Linked DNA regions of Homo sapiens: region 2 is linked to region 1. Evidence: promoter capture Hi-C in human tissues and cell types (Jung and others, 2019). All regions are on one chromosome and are shown on one strand. The core of a region is centred on a gene start or on the middle of the fragment in contact, and the rest is flanking DNA. Distances in the headings are between cores, read along the strand shown.

The links. Contacts are between HindIII fragments. The study calls those that stand out against the background at their distance.
Region 2: the fragment with the promoter of PLIN1 here is called in contact with the fragment with the promoter of AP3S2 in region 1 in 8 of the 25 tissues and cell types used here (adrenal gland, bladder, heart left ventricle and 5 more).

The regions. Positions count from the first base shown.
Region 1 is chr15:89,889,845-89,897,134 of GRCh38, forward strand. It overlaps AP3S2 (adaptor related protein complex 3 subunit sigma 2), which reads right to left and starts at 4,150. Exons shown (of 6, transcript NM_005829.5): 1 at 4,037-4,150. The coding sequence starts at 4,105. All of the region lies in intron 5 of ARPIN-AP3S2 (ARPIN-AP3S2 readthrough), which reads right to left. ARPIN (actin related protein 2/3 complex inhibitor) reads right to left here. Exons shown (of 6, transcript NM_182616.4): 6 at 5,162-7,290. RefSeq lists enhancers at 2,439-3,188, 4,181-4,330, 4,685-5,432. The HindIII fragment of the contact is 43,728 bases long and covers 1-7,290 here.
Region 2 is chr15:89,675,265-89,682,554 of GRCh38, forward strand. It overlaps PLIN1 (perilipin 1), which reads right to left and starts at 4,103. Exons shown (of 9, transcript NM_002666.5): 1 at 3,987-4,103; 2 at 2,181-2,239. The coding sequence starts at 2,225. PEX11A (peroxisomal biogenesis factor 11 alpha) reads right to left here. Exons shown (of 3, transcript NM_003847.3): 3 at 6,271-7,290. The HindIII fragment of the contact is 12,360 bases long and covers 1-7,290 here.

The DNA.
Region 1 (7,290 bases), core at 2,900-5,399:
CAGAGTGAGACTCCATCTCAAAAAAAAAAAAAAAAAAAAAAAAAGGTCAAGAAGTAATCATGTAAATGTTTTAAAAAGTTATATTGGCAAATACAGCTGCCATCTTTTGTACTGGTAATATAGATACTACATATAAGATGCTGTGTTACTCACCAACAAAGTATTATTGAGAAAAATAGATTACAGATTAAAATTTTGAACAGTTACAAATAAAATGTATTATTATTATTTTTAGACAGAGTCTTGTTCTGTTGCCCAGGCAGTGGTGTGATCACAGCTCATTGCAACCTCCACCTCCGGGTTCAAGCGATTCTCCTGCCTCAGCCTCCCCAGTGGCTGAGATTACAGGTATGTGCCACCATGCCCGGCTAATTTTTGTATTTATAGTAGAGATGGGGTTTCACCATGTTGGTCAGGCTGGTCTTGAACTCCTGACCTCAAGTGATCCACCTGCTTTGGCCTCCCAAAGTGCTGGGATTACAGGTGTGAGCCACCATGTCTGGCCTTATTTTTTCACTTACTACGTGCATAAGAAAGCTCAACTCTGATGAAATCACTTTGATAACTCACCTTTGATTTCTAATTATACATATGAGTTTCAGAAGAAGTATGGTTAAAAGGGTAAGAGAGGGAGAAACCAGCAATTAAGACAGATAATAACTTAAAGCTCTAGAGCATTGCTTCTCAAATCTTCATTTGCAATGAATCAGCTGTGAATGCTGTTAAAATACAGATTCGGATTTAGCAGGTATAGGTTAAGTCCTGAGATGCAAGTCTAGTAAGCACCCAGGCAATAACATTTCTGCTGGTCTGGGGACCACACTTTGAGTAACGAATCATAAGAAAACCTTCAAATTGGACTTGCCCCAAGAGTTAGAAAATAGGTTCAAGTAATTTTAATCCCTTTCTTTCTATAGCCCTGAATTTAGCTTTGAAATGGTTATTTAAAAGAAACAGAGAGGGGAAAAAAGGGAAAACGTAATTGTGGGGAAATTACTTTGACTCACATGGGTATGGAATGGCTCACAGTATTTACTGACTGAATGAAAACTTGCTAATCATTGGTCACTACAAATTTGAGTAAATTAATCACTATTTTCCTCATTTCCATTTAAAGAACAAACAAAGCTCACAGATGACAGGATGCTGTAGGAGACGAACTCTATATATGCAAAATACAAAACATGCTAAGCATCAGCACTTTTTAAAACTGACAAAGACATCTTTTGAACTAAAGCCTTTTATCTGACTCTGGGGGAAGTGGCAGCAGTGGGGAAGTGGTACGAAATGATGAGGCTACCTAATTTCTAGTTCAATAAAAAGGTAAACTACCAATTGCTTACATGCCTCAGTGATTTTAATAACCCCTCATATCTTTTTAGTACTCTGTAGTTTTCAAGGTACTTTCATCCATGAGCTCATGAGGTCTTATAAAAATCCTATGATCCAAAGATACACGAATGGGCAATAAGCACATGAAAAGATGCTCAACATCATTAGTCATTTTGGAAACTGAAATCAAAACCACAATGAGCTGGGTGCGGTGGCTCACGCCTGTAATCCCTGCACTTTGGGAGGCCAAGACGGGCAGATTACTTGTGGTCAGGAGTTCGAGACCAGCCTGGCCAACACAGCGAAACCCCATCTCTACTAAAAATACAAAAATTAGCCAGGCATGGTCGTGGGCACCTGTAATCCTAGCTACTCAGGAGACTGAGGCAGGAGAATCACTTGAACCCGGGAGGCAGAGGTTACAGTGAACCGAGATCACGCCACTGCAGCCTGGGAGATAGAGTGAGATTCAGTCTCGGAGGGAAAAAAAAAAGCCACAGTGAGATACCACTTTACACCCACTAAAATGTCTTTAACCAAAAATAAATAAATAAATAACGAATGGCAGGGATGTGAAGAAACTGGAATCATTATACATTGCTGATGGAAATGTAAAATGGTGCAGCCACTTGGAAAATTTGTCAAATAGTTTGCAGTTTCTCAAAATGTTCACCACAGTTACCATATGATCCAGCAATTCTACTCCTAGGTATATAACCAAGAGAAATGAAGTCATAAGTCCACATAAAAACTTGCACAAGAATGTTCATAGCAGCATTAATTAGAAGAGCCAAAAAGCAGAAATATCAACTTATAAATTGACAATCAAAATATGGCATATCCATATAATGGAATATTATTCAGCAATAAAAGAAATGAAGAACATCAGATACATGCTACAACATGGATGAATCTTGAAAACATTATACTACATGAAACATGGCAGACACACAAAAAACCACTTATTTATGATTCCATTTATAGGCAACGGAATAGGCAAATTCCATTTGCCATTCTGGAACTGGCAAATTTAGAGGGAAAGAAACTCTCTGGGGCTGGGAGAGTCATGGAGAAATAGGGAGTGACTGCTAATGGGCAGAGGTTTCTTTTTGGGGTGATGAAAATGATCTAAAATTGATTGTGGTGATGGTTACACAGCTTCTGTGAACATGCTAAAAAACACTGAATTGTCCCCTTTAAATAAGTAAACTGGGGCCGGACACAGTGGCTCATGCCTGTAATCCCAGCACTTTGGGAGGCTGAGTCCGGTGGATTGCTTGAGCCCAGGAGTTCAAGACCAGCCTGGGCAACATAGAAAGACCCCGTCTCTATAAGTAAATAACATAAAATAAATAAGTAAACAGTATGGCATGTTAGTTTTATCTCAGTAACCCTGTTAGAAAAAAACTAGGGGGGAAATTTGCATACACACAAATGCAAATACAAATAGTTACGCTGAATACTCATATACATACATATATATATATACTTTTTTGTGTGTGTGTGTGATGGAGTCTCGCTCTTTCGCCCAGGCTGGAGTGCAGTGGCGCTATCTTGGCTCACTGCAAGCTCCGCCTCCCGGGCTCACGCCATTCTCCTGCCTCAGCCTCCTGAGTAGCTGGGACTTGGAGGTGCCCGCCACCGCGCTTGGCTAATTTTTTGTATTTTTAGTAGAGACGGGGTTTCACCGTGTTAGCCAGGATGGTCTCCATCTCCTGACCTCGTGATCCGCCCGCCTCGGCCTCCCAAAGTGCTGGGATTACAGGCGTGAGCCACCGCGCCCGGCCTGAATACTCATATTTTTACCTCGATGTAATCTACTTAATAAAATGTAATCTAGCTTTAAAAATCTTATGAAGGAGTAAAATTATTTTTTCATTTCTAATTGACAAAAGACAATAAAAGTCTGAAAAGGGTTTATTAACTTGTCAACAGACGCAAGAGTAGAAAAGGTGGAGCTGAAGCCTGAACACGTTTTCTGGCTCTTTCCCCTCTTCAGTTCCACCAGTCCCCCAATTATGTAACATTTTGAAACCCTGCCATGAAGAAATATAATCTTCGAAGACAGGAAGCAAATACTGATGTTTATGTGTTTGCAAAGGAACGTGTTGGGAAAATTCAAATTTACGTAATCACTTATTGAGCCCTTATGCGGCAGCATTTATAATTTCTCATCATTTTTCCACTTTTAAACTGATTTTCTTCAACCCTAAGAGTGAAGGGTATCTAGTCTCTGGAAAGTCCCAGCCAACACTGAAGCAAAATAATTCCAAAAAAAAAAGAACTTTTCCAGTTCTGGCTATAACAAAAACTTTCAGAAACTTAATATTTCTTCCTCATGAAACTGTGGTCAACAACCAAAAAGATGACAGAATGTGACTTCAATCACTCAAGTTCTCATCGAGGCACACTCCCCACTGTCGCTTCTATCTCGTTCCCAGAGACCCACGGGAAAATGTCACAAAATGGCACAGAAATGCCAGGATCAAGAAAAGGGTCAGCGAGAGCGGGGCAGTAGGGCGGGAGACAGAAGGCCTGGCACCAGCCTGCGCCTAGATTAAATGCTTAAGTAGGGCGAGGGTCATGCTCGGTGCAGGAGCCCCAGGTGACCAAAGAGCGGTGCCCCCGGGCGCCGAGAGGCCAAAGAGGAGGGAAGACATAGTGGGCGCCCTGAAGGGGCGTGGTGAAGCCGGGCCGCACTCACGAAACGCTGGTAGAAGCGGACTAGCCGTGGCTTCCCATGGTTGTTGAAAACCAGAATCGCCTGAATCATCTTTGCCAGCCACGGTTCTCTCAGCACCGGCTACTCCCAGAAAGCTCCTCCTTCCGCCACAACACGATCACTTCCGGTTGGTGCGCTGCTGAGAGCGGCACTCGGAAACTTGGCCCCGGCGCTCACGAGCCCTAGCACCCAAGGGTCCGGCCTCTCTGACGCCTTGGAGGGCAGGTGCGGATGCCGAGGAGAGTGGTCACCTCGGCCAGCGTTGGTTGGCCAGTCAGGATGCGAATCCGGATCTATGTCCCTCGCCCAGACCGACGGCTGGCCCCAGAAGCCGAAACGACCGTCAGCCGGGTTGCCAAAACGGAGAGGCGGCGGGAGCTTGCTTTTCTCACCGCCCGCTCCAAATCATGCACTCCCGCCATCCCCTTAGCGCTCGCAGAACGTTCCGCGGAGTGGAGACGCCGGTCATTCGGCCGTTCGTCGGTTATGGAACATTTCGTTCATTTTAATTTTTCAGTATTATAATGCTGCAGTGAATTACGTAGCTGTCTCTCCGTGCAGATGGGCTGTTCCTCTATGGTAGACGGTGAATGGTGGAATTAAGGAATTTTTAGTGCATTTCCATTTAAAATCCCAAATCGATCAAGTTCTTATTTTTGTTTGTTCTTTTAATGACCCAGTGTGGGTGAAGTGGAGCATGTCCGTATACTGCAGATGGAGCAGCGGATACAGATGCAAATCGATCCAGAGGACTGTTTGGCGATATGGATCAGAAGCCTTTAAAATATATAACAGTCCGGGCGCGGTGGCTCACGCCTGTAATCCCAGCACTTTGGGAGGCCGAGGCGGGCGGCTCACTTGAGGTCAGCAGTTCGAGACCAGCCTGGCCAACAAGGTGAAACCCCGCCTCTACTAAAATTACAAAAATTAGCCGGTTGTGGTGGCGCGCGCCTGTAGTCCCAGATACTTGGGAGACTGAGGCAGGAGAATGGCTTGAACCCGGGAGGCGGAGGTTGCAGTGAGCTGAGATCACACCACACTGCACTCCAGCCTGGGTGACAGATATATAACATATATATATATATATATAAAACATTAGACTCAGCGTTTCCAGCTCTAGAATTTATGATAAAATGATTGTGGATGTGTGAAAAGATTTAGCCTGAGGAACATACATTTCTGCCAGAGTATCTTCAGAACAGTAAAAAAAAGAAGAAAAAAATATATATCTCAGCAGTGTTATTACAGGGGAAAATGGGAAGAAAATTATTACAAAAATGAGAAATTGGTTAAGTGCATTGTTCTACATTGAATATGAGAAATATTAAATAGATAATAAAAATCATGCTGGGAAAGATTTATGATACGGAAGTGTTCATGACACCTGTTAAGCTAAAAGATTACACAAAGTATGTACAGGGACAACCCACTTTGCTCAAGATTGGAGGCAAATACACCAAAATATGAATCATGTATCTGATGGAATGGCAGAGTCAGGGTGTTTGATCTGTACAGGACCCTGGAACCACACTGCCCTGATTCAAAGCATGGTTCTGCGGACTGCCTGGGCACCCTGGGCAAGTTTCCCCATCTGTAGAAAAGGTGTAATATCAGTTTCCTAAACTGGAAAACTGGAAAATGAGTCTACTGACTTCAGACAGTTGTTATAAACACAAAGGGAGTTAGTATAATATTTGTAAGCACTTGGACAGTGCATGGCACATAACTGAGTACCACATAAGTGATTTAAAAACATCTTTGGGTGGTAGGATTATCAAGTTTTCCTTTTTTTCCTTCAAAGAAATATGTACTACTTTTGCAGCCAGAGTTCTGGGGTTTGCTTGTTTGTTTTTCAGAGATAGGGTCTTACCCAGGTTGGAGTGCAGTGGCACAGTCATACCTCACTGTAACCTCAAACTGCTGGCCTCAGGCAATCCTCCAGCCTCAGTCTCCCAAACCGCCACCACGCCTAGTCCAGTTTTTTGTTTGTTTGTTTGTTTGTTTGTTTGAGATGGAGTCTCACTCTGTTGCCCAGGCTGGAGTGCAGTGGCACAATCTTGGCTCACTGCAACCTCCGTCTCCCGGGTTCAAACAATTCTCCTGCTTCAGCCTCCCCAGTAGCTGGGATTACAGGCACATGCCACCATGCCCAGCAAATTTTTGTATTTTTAGTAGAGATGGGGTTTCACCACATTGGCCAGTCTGGTCTCAAACTCCTGACCTCAAGTGATTCACCCATCTCAGTCTCCCGAAGTGCTGGGATTACAGGCGTGAGCCACTGCGCCCGGCATGGCCCAGTTTTTAAATAAATAAAAACCAAAAGTCAGTTGCACTGAAACTTGACAAAATGTTTAAAATGTTGAGGAAGAATATCAAAGAAAATTCTGAAACAGAATTATGAAGAAGAACTAGCTCTGCCAACTATGAAAACCTACTTTGATGGTTCAAATTGTAATTATAGGAAGAATAACTGAAATATTATAAATAATTTAGGCATAAAATAATTTTAATATGTGATGTAGGAGTGGGAAGGAATTCAGTAAATACTATTAGGATAACTGGTTAGCAATTTGAAAATAAGTAGTTAGGTATAAAACCAGATAATAACCTAAACAGAAGAAAGCGAAATTGAATAAGATCCAAAAATCTGTATTAGCTTAGAAGCAATAAAAATCACAAAACATCAACAGATATATAAAGTTTTTTTATAAAAAGAATTATTTAATGGAAAAATCGTTGTTAAAATATGGCAAATGGTTATATTTAAAATGCAAATAACTGATAAACTAAAAAGATAACACTCCCCATCTCCCCAGTAGATAAATGGACGAAAGAACGAATAACAAAGGGAGAAATACAGCTAGGAAAAGGAAAAAATGTTTAAGCTCACTATAAGTGGGGGAAAGGCAAATTAAAATATATTCAAATATTATTTTCACCTCATCAAAAATCATTTTAAAAATGTTTTCATACCCAATTCTCACAAGGGCAGCATAAAAATGGTTCTCCCCTACATTGCTGGTGAAATTATGGTTTAGAACAACCCTTTTGGGAAGCAATTTGGCAATATAACAAGAACTTTGCAAAAGATTTCTAGATTCTCAGTAATATGACTCCTGGGCATCTGTTCCTAAAGAAATAACCCAAAAATATAGTTAGAGGTGGGGAATTAAGAGAACTATATAATTTTCAACATTTTTGGAAACATTAATTCTGTTAGCCACACAGGGATCAAT
Region 2 (7,290 bases), core at 2,853-5,352, 210 kb before region 1:
AGGTCACCTAGGAACCTTAGTGAAAAAACACTGGTCTTTGAGTAAAAGAATGAATTCTAGGGCTAAGTGTAGAAGCTCATGCCTGTAATCCCAACACTTTGGGAGGCTGAGGCGGGAGGATCATTTGAAGCCAGGAGTTTGAGACCACTCTGAGCCACAAAAAAAAAAAAAAAAAAAAAAAAAGCTGGCCATGCTAATATTTGATGGCATGTGGACTACACAGTCCCAGCTGCTGGGGAGGCTGAGGTGAGAGGACTGTCTGAGACCAGGAGTCCGAGGCTGCAGTGAACTATGACAATGCCACTGCACTCCAGCCGGGGTGACAGAGCAAGACTCTATATCTAAAAAATAAATAAATAAAATTAAAAGAACAAATTCTAGGCATGCAGAGGGAAAGAACATTTGCCAGGTGCCATTATGCTGCAGGCACTGGTCTGGGTGCCTTGGTGACATGAGCTCACTTAATTCTAACAGCCATCCTCTGGGGTCAGCACTGTCACCAACACTGAGTCGATGAGGAGATTGACAATCAGAAACAGGAAGTGATTTACCCAAGATCCCACAGCTGATAAGTGGCAGAGCCAGGATTCCAACACAAGTTGGAAATGGCCTACCTGGGATTACCTTCAAAATAACATGAAGTGGGGGAATTAATGGAAGTGAGGACGAGGCGGGATTGGCCACGAATTCATGGTCTTCGGGGCTAATAAAGGGTACGTGGGGCTTCCTATGTTCTTTTCTGTCTATTCTTATGAATGTTGAGAATTCTCCATATCAAAAGTAAAAAGAAAAAAAAACCCAGGTCAGATTCCGATGCTCAGGCTCTCTGTAGCTTTGAATATGACACTGTGGCATGGTTTTGCTCGCAAAGTGAAGACCTGACCTGTTCTGTTAGTAGGAGGCAGAGTTCAAAGACCCCCATCAATGACACCTACATGTACACTAAGACAGAGCAGCCCACAATATCTTAGTTTTTTTTTGTTGTTTGTTTGTTTGTTTTTTTGAGATGGAATCTCGCTGTCTCCCAGGCTGGAGTGCAGTGGCGCGATCTCAGCTCACTGCAAGCTCTGCCTCCTGGGTTCATGCCATTCTCCTGCCTCAGTCTCCCAAGTAGCTGGGACTACAGGCGCCCGCCACCATACCCCGCTGATTTTTTGTATTTTTAGTAGAGATGGGGTTTCACTGTGTTAGCCAGGATGGTCTTGATCTCCTGACCTTGTGAACCGCCCGCCTTGGCCTCCCAAAGTGCTGGGATTACAGGCGTGAGCCACTGCACCTGGCCAATATCTTAGTTTTTTATCCTGCAGGTGAATTTGAAATTTGAACTAGAAATAGACTATGACTATAAACAAGAAAACATTCTTTTTAACATTTTGGACGAGGCTTCAGAGGTTGTTTTACACAAAACCGAAGGAGGAAAGAGATCCTGGGAAGGGAATAAACCACCGTCTGTTAGAATGGCTTAACCATGTACTTGACCATTTTACGCCTCTCTCTGTTCTATGATTCAATACAAAACAAAGTGATTCCTAGTGCAGGAGTTAGTAAAAGCGTAACTTGGGCAAGGTGGATATTGCACAGGTTCATAATTTTTAAGTTTCACTATCCGAACTGTGCCCAAATCTGAGATGCCTTGCCAGGAGCCATCAAGCATCCCTAAAAGTATCAAATCACTTCAAGTCACAGTGAAAACCAGGTCAGAGATAGAACACCAGACACATGGAATATCCCACCCTTCCCCCCACACAGCAGCACAGGCTGTGCACCGTCTAACTCCGACAGGTGACATTTGCCGTTATGAATGATGCTGGAGACACAGAATACAGTGGCTCTGCACTGAATGCACATCCAGCTGGGTGGTGGACAGAGCATGGGCTTCTGCGTCAGGGTTTAAACAGTAGTTTCCTTCCTCTCCACTCCCCCCGTCCCTAAGCCAGGATTTCTGTCCCTTTTTTTCAAGGTGCTTAATTTTTAATAGGCATCTTTTTTTCCCCTCCCAGATCCTCCAACTGCCCCCTACAAAAGGTGGTGAGGGCAAGAATAACTAAGCCATGGTAGTCAATGAACTAGGATTATAATCTGGGAATATCTTGCTCTAAGTCCCCTGCATCTCCCCTCCCTGCTTCTTCCTCCTCCCTCAGTTGTCCATCCCCTGTCACAGATGAGCCCAAGTTACTTACAGGGAGGTCTCCATCCAGCAAGGTGAGGCCTTTGTTGACTGCCATCCTCGCTCCTCAAGCTGCAAAACAGAGTCCCAGGTCCCATCAGAAGCCCTCAGGCTTGAGCTCCACTGGGTCACTTCCCTACCTCTCATGGCCACCAACTAGGCCCAGGCTGCCTGGGGGCCCATTTGCCCTGAACAGAAGGCATTAGGTTGGAGGGTGAATATCACACACAATAGCCCCACTCCTTAGGGTCCCATAGCAATGAGTTGCTCCATAGCTTACTTGTCAAGACTGATGTTTCTTTCTTTTTCTTTTCTTTCTTTCTTTTTTTTTTTTTTTGAGATGGATTCTTGCTCTGTTGCCCAGGCTGGAGTGTAGTTGCACAATCTCGGCTCACTACAACCTCCGCCTCCCGGGTTCAAGGGATTCTCCTGCCTCAGCCTCCCAAGTAGCTGGGATTACAGGCGCCCACCACCACGCCCGGCTAGTTTTTTTTTTTTTTTCTGTTTAGTAGAGATGGGGTTTCACCATGTTGGCTAGGCTGGTGTCGAACTCCTGACCTCAAGTGATCCACCTGCCTAGACCTCCCAAAGTGCTGGGATTACAGGCATGAACCACCACACTGGCTAATTTTTGTATTTTTAGTAGAGATGGGGTTTCATCATGTTGGCCAGGCTGGTCTCGAACTCCTGGCCTCAAGTGATCTGCCCACCTTGGCCTCCCAAAGTGCTGTGATTACAGGCAAGAGCCACCATGCCCGGCCAAGAATAATGTTTCCTATAAGAGTTCAGGTTAAGAGGCCAGGCGCGGTGGCTCAGGCCTGTAATCCCGGCACTTTGGGAGTCCAAGGCAGGCAGATCACCTGAGTTCAGGAGTTCAAGACCAGCCTGGGCAACATGGTGAAACTCCGTCTCTGCTAAAAATACAAAAATTAGCCAGACGTGGTGGTGGGCAGCTGTAATCCCAGCTACTTGGGAGGCTGAGGCAGGAGGATCGCTTGAGCCTGAGAGGTGGAGGTTGCAGTGAGCTGAGATCCTGCCACTGCACTCCAGCCTGGGTGACAGAGGGAGACTCTGTCTCAAAAAAAAAAAGGAGTTCAGGTTAGGAAATAAAAAATGCAGGTAGCCATAAGAGATAAAAAGTTTTAGATAAAATCTTAAGGCTCTTAAATGAGGGTCCAAAAGAGACTAAAACAAGAAGTTTCAAGCTGGGTGCACTGGCAAGCACCTGTAATCCCAGCTACTGAGGCTGACATGGGAGAATTGCTTGAGCCCAGGAGTTTGAGATCAGCCTCGGCAATACAGTGAGATGCCCATCTCTAAAAAAATAAATAAACAAGTTAAAGGTTTCATCTTTGAAAAGGCTCTGGGTTAATTCCTCTATTTCTCTCTTTCTCTCTGTCTGTCCCTCTCCCCCTCTCCCTATCTGTTTTTTGAGACAGGGTCTCAATCTGTTGCCCAGGATGGAATGTGGTGGCACGATCATGGCTCAATGCAGCCTTGACCTCCTGGGATCAAGGTACCCTCCCACCTCAGCCTCTCATGTAGCTGGGACTACAGGCATGCACCACAATGCAGGGCTAATTTTTTCTCTTTTTTTATAGAGACAGGATCCCACTGTGTTGCCCAGGTTGTTCTTGAACTCCTGGGCTCAAGTGATCCACCTGCCTTGGCCACCTGCAGTGCTGGGATTAAAGGCATGATCCACTGTGCCTATCCAATTCCTCTATTTCTAGATTCTGGTATCTATACCAGAATCTCTCCCTCAGTAGTTTCCCTGCAGAGTTTTTCATCCCCAGCAAAATCCCCAAGAGGCCCTTACCTTCAACTTCTTCCCTTTAATGTTCATAAACAAGCCATGTAAGGCAGGTGCCCCAGGACCCCAACACTCACTCCGGCTGACCGCCACCTCAGTCTCACAGAGCCCAGGCTGCAGAGTGTCTCCTCAGGCAGAAACAATTCCTGTCACTCCTGGGAGGCTTGGGCAATGCTGCTTCCACCTCCCAGCTAGAGGAGGGCAGAGAGGGAGAGACAACAGGGTCAGCCAGTTGTCATGGTTATATGACCCAGGGTTCCCCAGGCATATCCTAACTTCTCTAAGGACATTTAGCAAACAAGGAGGTAGGTGGCAGAGCTGAAGGAGATCCAGGCTCAGAGGACTTAGTATTCCAGAGCCATGAAGCATCAGTTCTGTAATGTTCCTGCCCTCAATTCACAAAAATCTGCTTTCCAGAAAGAAGGTATAGGGATAGACATCATTAAACTCAAAAGCTCTAAAGTTCTATATACCTCTGCAATCTTTTGGCTCCTTTTCCATAGAGGGTCTTGTGGGAGTTTTCAATCCATTTCTCTCATCTTTTCTTATTTACTAGCAAGACTGAATGCTGAACAGTAAAATTTAAACCCACACAGAAGAGTTCATCTGAATGTATTCATCTTTGATTATGGAGATAAATTGCCCTCAGTGAAGAAGCGACAGAGCCGGGAGTTGAGTTTTTGACAATATAGCCTTTGAGTTGAGGGAGGAATTCCCACTTCTTAGAATTCAAAAAAATTTATTGAACTTTACCTGGCCTAAGATGCTACCAGAATGAAGAGTAGGAGAGCCAAGTAGATTTTTATTCTCCTGGGTCTGGATAAGCGACAGTGTTGACTAGGATTCTATCACTAATCAAGAGCACCCAGACAGCCAAGAATTAGCACCACTCAACCCTTCTTTACCCAGGACTCAAGCACAAGCCCAAGTTCTAGTTCCTGGCTTTAGATATGATGGAGGACTATGGTATAAGCCATAGCTTTCAGATTAACTAAGAAGGGCCTCTTCATGAAAACAGACAATAGGAAAACAAAACTTATTTTCTTTGTTGCTGGTGGAATTATATGTATTGTTGACTCTGTTAAGTCACACAGTGTGGGCAAGAGAAGAAAGAGGCAGGGGTGGGGAATTATGAAAGATCCTTGGTAATAAATTACGTATCTGTGATGCAATAAAGTAGGGAATGAGAAGGCAGGAAAGGGAGGAGTCAAGCAGGGAGGCTTCAAAGGAGTAATACGCTATACGTTTAATACTTATTGATCCAACCTGTGCTTTTCAAATGTAAGGCAGTAGAGAAGACAAAGTATTTAAAGAAGTGGCCTCTGCCCTCACCTCAAGGTTCAGCACAAATTATCTGTGAGGCTGTGACTGGACAGCAACCTGAGCCAAAGGGCAGTTTTCAGCCTTCAGAGTAGTGGCTTTGGGCCAGAGGGAACATAGGGCTTTGTGCCTGAAAGCTCTGCCAAATCAAATAGTCCTTTGGCTGCTTTAGCTGGGAGTGCAGAATGTGGGTGAGAGGTGAGAAGTGGTGAAAGGGCCTAGGAGAGTCCCGAGGGAAGACAGAAGTGTTAGTTTTCTAGCAGTAGCTTGCAGGGCATAGAGTTCTATCTTCTTTCCTTCTCCGTACCTACCTGCTTTCCCTACCCCTCCACCAAGTGAGAGCAGGGACCTAGGTCATCTTGCTCACAAGTGGATACCCAAAACCATGCATGGCACTCAAACATTCATTGTTGAATAAATGAATTGTCAGGCAACAATGCTCAGTTGTGAATGTGCTGGGCTGTACATCTACGAAGAACTTCTTCGATTTTTGGCATCCCTCATGAATGTGGAGGCTCTGGGGTGGAAAACATTAGTTACAAAGAAGGATTCACAGGGTGGTACCAGGACACCATTAAGGTTTACACAAACCTCTTAGAAGAGGTAGTATTTCCCAAACTCCCCACCACTCACCATTGCAGAGGACAAAAGTACCAAGATGGATACCACTGTAACATAACATACCACCATGAATTCAAGGCAGACTTACCTAGGCAGAAGCCAGCCAGCGATTGACAGGGCTACTGTAGAGCACCATCTCCATGGCAGCAGTCTAGATGAGTTCATTTCAGAGGTCCCTCTCAACCCAGAGGCTCTACATCTCAATCTTTCTCCATCCTCCTCCTCAGCCTGGATCTTCTAGCCCAGAGCTCGCTGTACCAACTGTGTAGGCTGATTGAGGATTATCTGATGGATTGCCTTATGTTTAACTCTTCTCTCTTCCCAGAACACACTCACAGACACAAGTCAATTTTGTCTAGAAATTTATTGAACATAGTTAATCTATTACAGTAGAGGATCTGGACAATAAAAATAGTTATTTAAGCTTTTTATTTTCCCTGACCTAGTAGCTTTCATGTCTCTTAAAATTCCCTAAATTTTATTTCTCAAATCCCATATCGTGATTGGTTAAACAGACAGCCAAGAATCTGAGTCTATTTTTTGAGAATCTCAATCACATTTCTGGGAAATGTGACTTATTGAGTACATATTTATTTTCTCATTTCCATTCAGATAAATGACACAGCTTTGCTGGGAGGACTGACATCGGCCTCCTACCTGCTGGCATCCTATTTCTCTACCTCACCTCCCTCAAACTAAAGGATCTGTAACCACATATAAAGACCCACACCCAAGATGGCAGATAGGAACACAAGTCAATGTCATTGACTCAGCATTCCATTGTCCTCTTCACTGGCTTCCTCCTGCGCTTTCCACCTCCCTCAATCACCCTAGAAATAAGATGTCTGATTTATCGTAGAAAATTGTGACTCTCTTACATCTGGAGTATTCATGAAATTTTTTTGACTGGATAAATTTTGATGAAAATTAATGTAGAATTGCCTAAATTGTTAGAAGGATTTAAATAAAACAATCTAACTGATAAGTCTAAATACTGTCTTAATTTTTTTTTAAGACACAGGGTCTTGCTCTATCACCCGGGCTGGAGTGCGGTGGAAGCTCACTGCAGCCTTGAACTCCTGGGCTCAAGTGATCCTCCTGCTTCAGCCTCCAGAGTATCTGGGACTACAGGCATACTCCACCATGCCTGGCTAATTTTTTAACACTTTGTTGTAGAGAAGGAGTCTCACTACATTGCCCAGGCTGGTCTTGAACTCCTGGCCTCAAGCAATCCTTCCGCTTCAGCCTCCCAAAGTGCTGGGATTATAGGTGTGAGCCACCACACTCCACCCAGTTTTAGTTTTTCTAGAAAAGAATATAAACCACTGGACAAGGAAATTTCCAAATTATGGGAGAGTAAGAGGCAAAA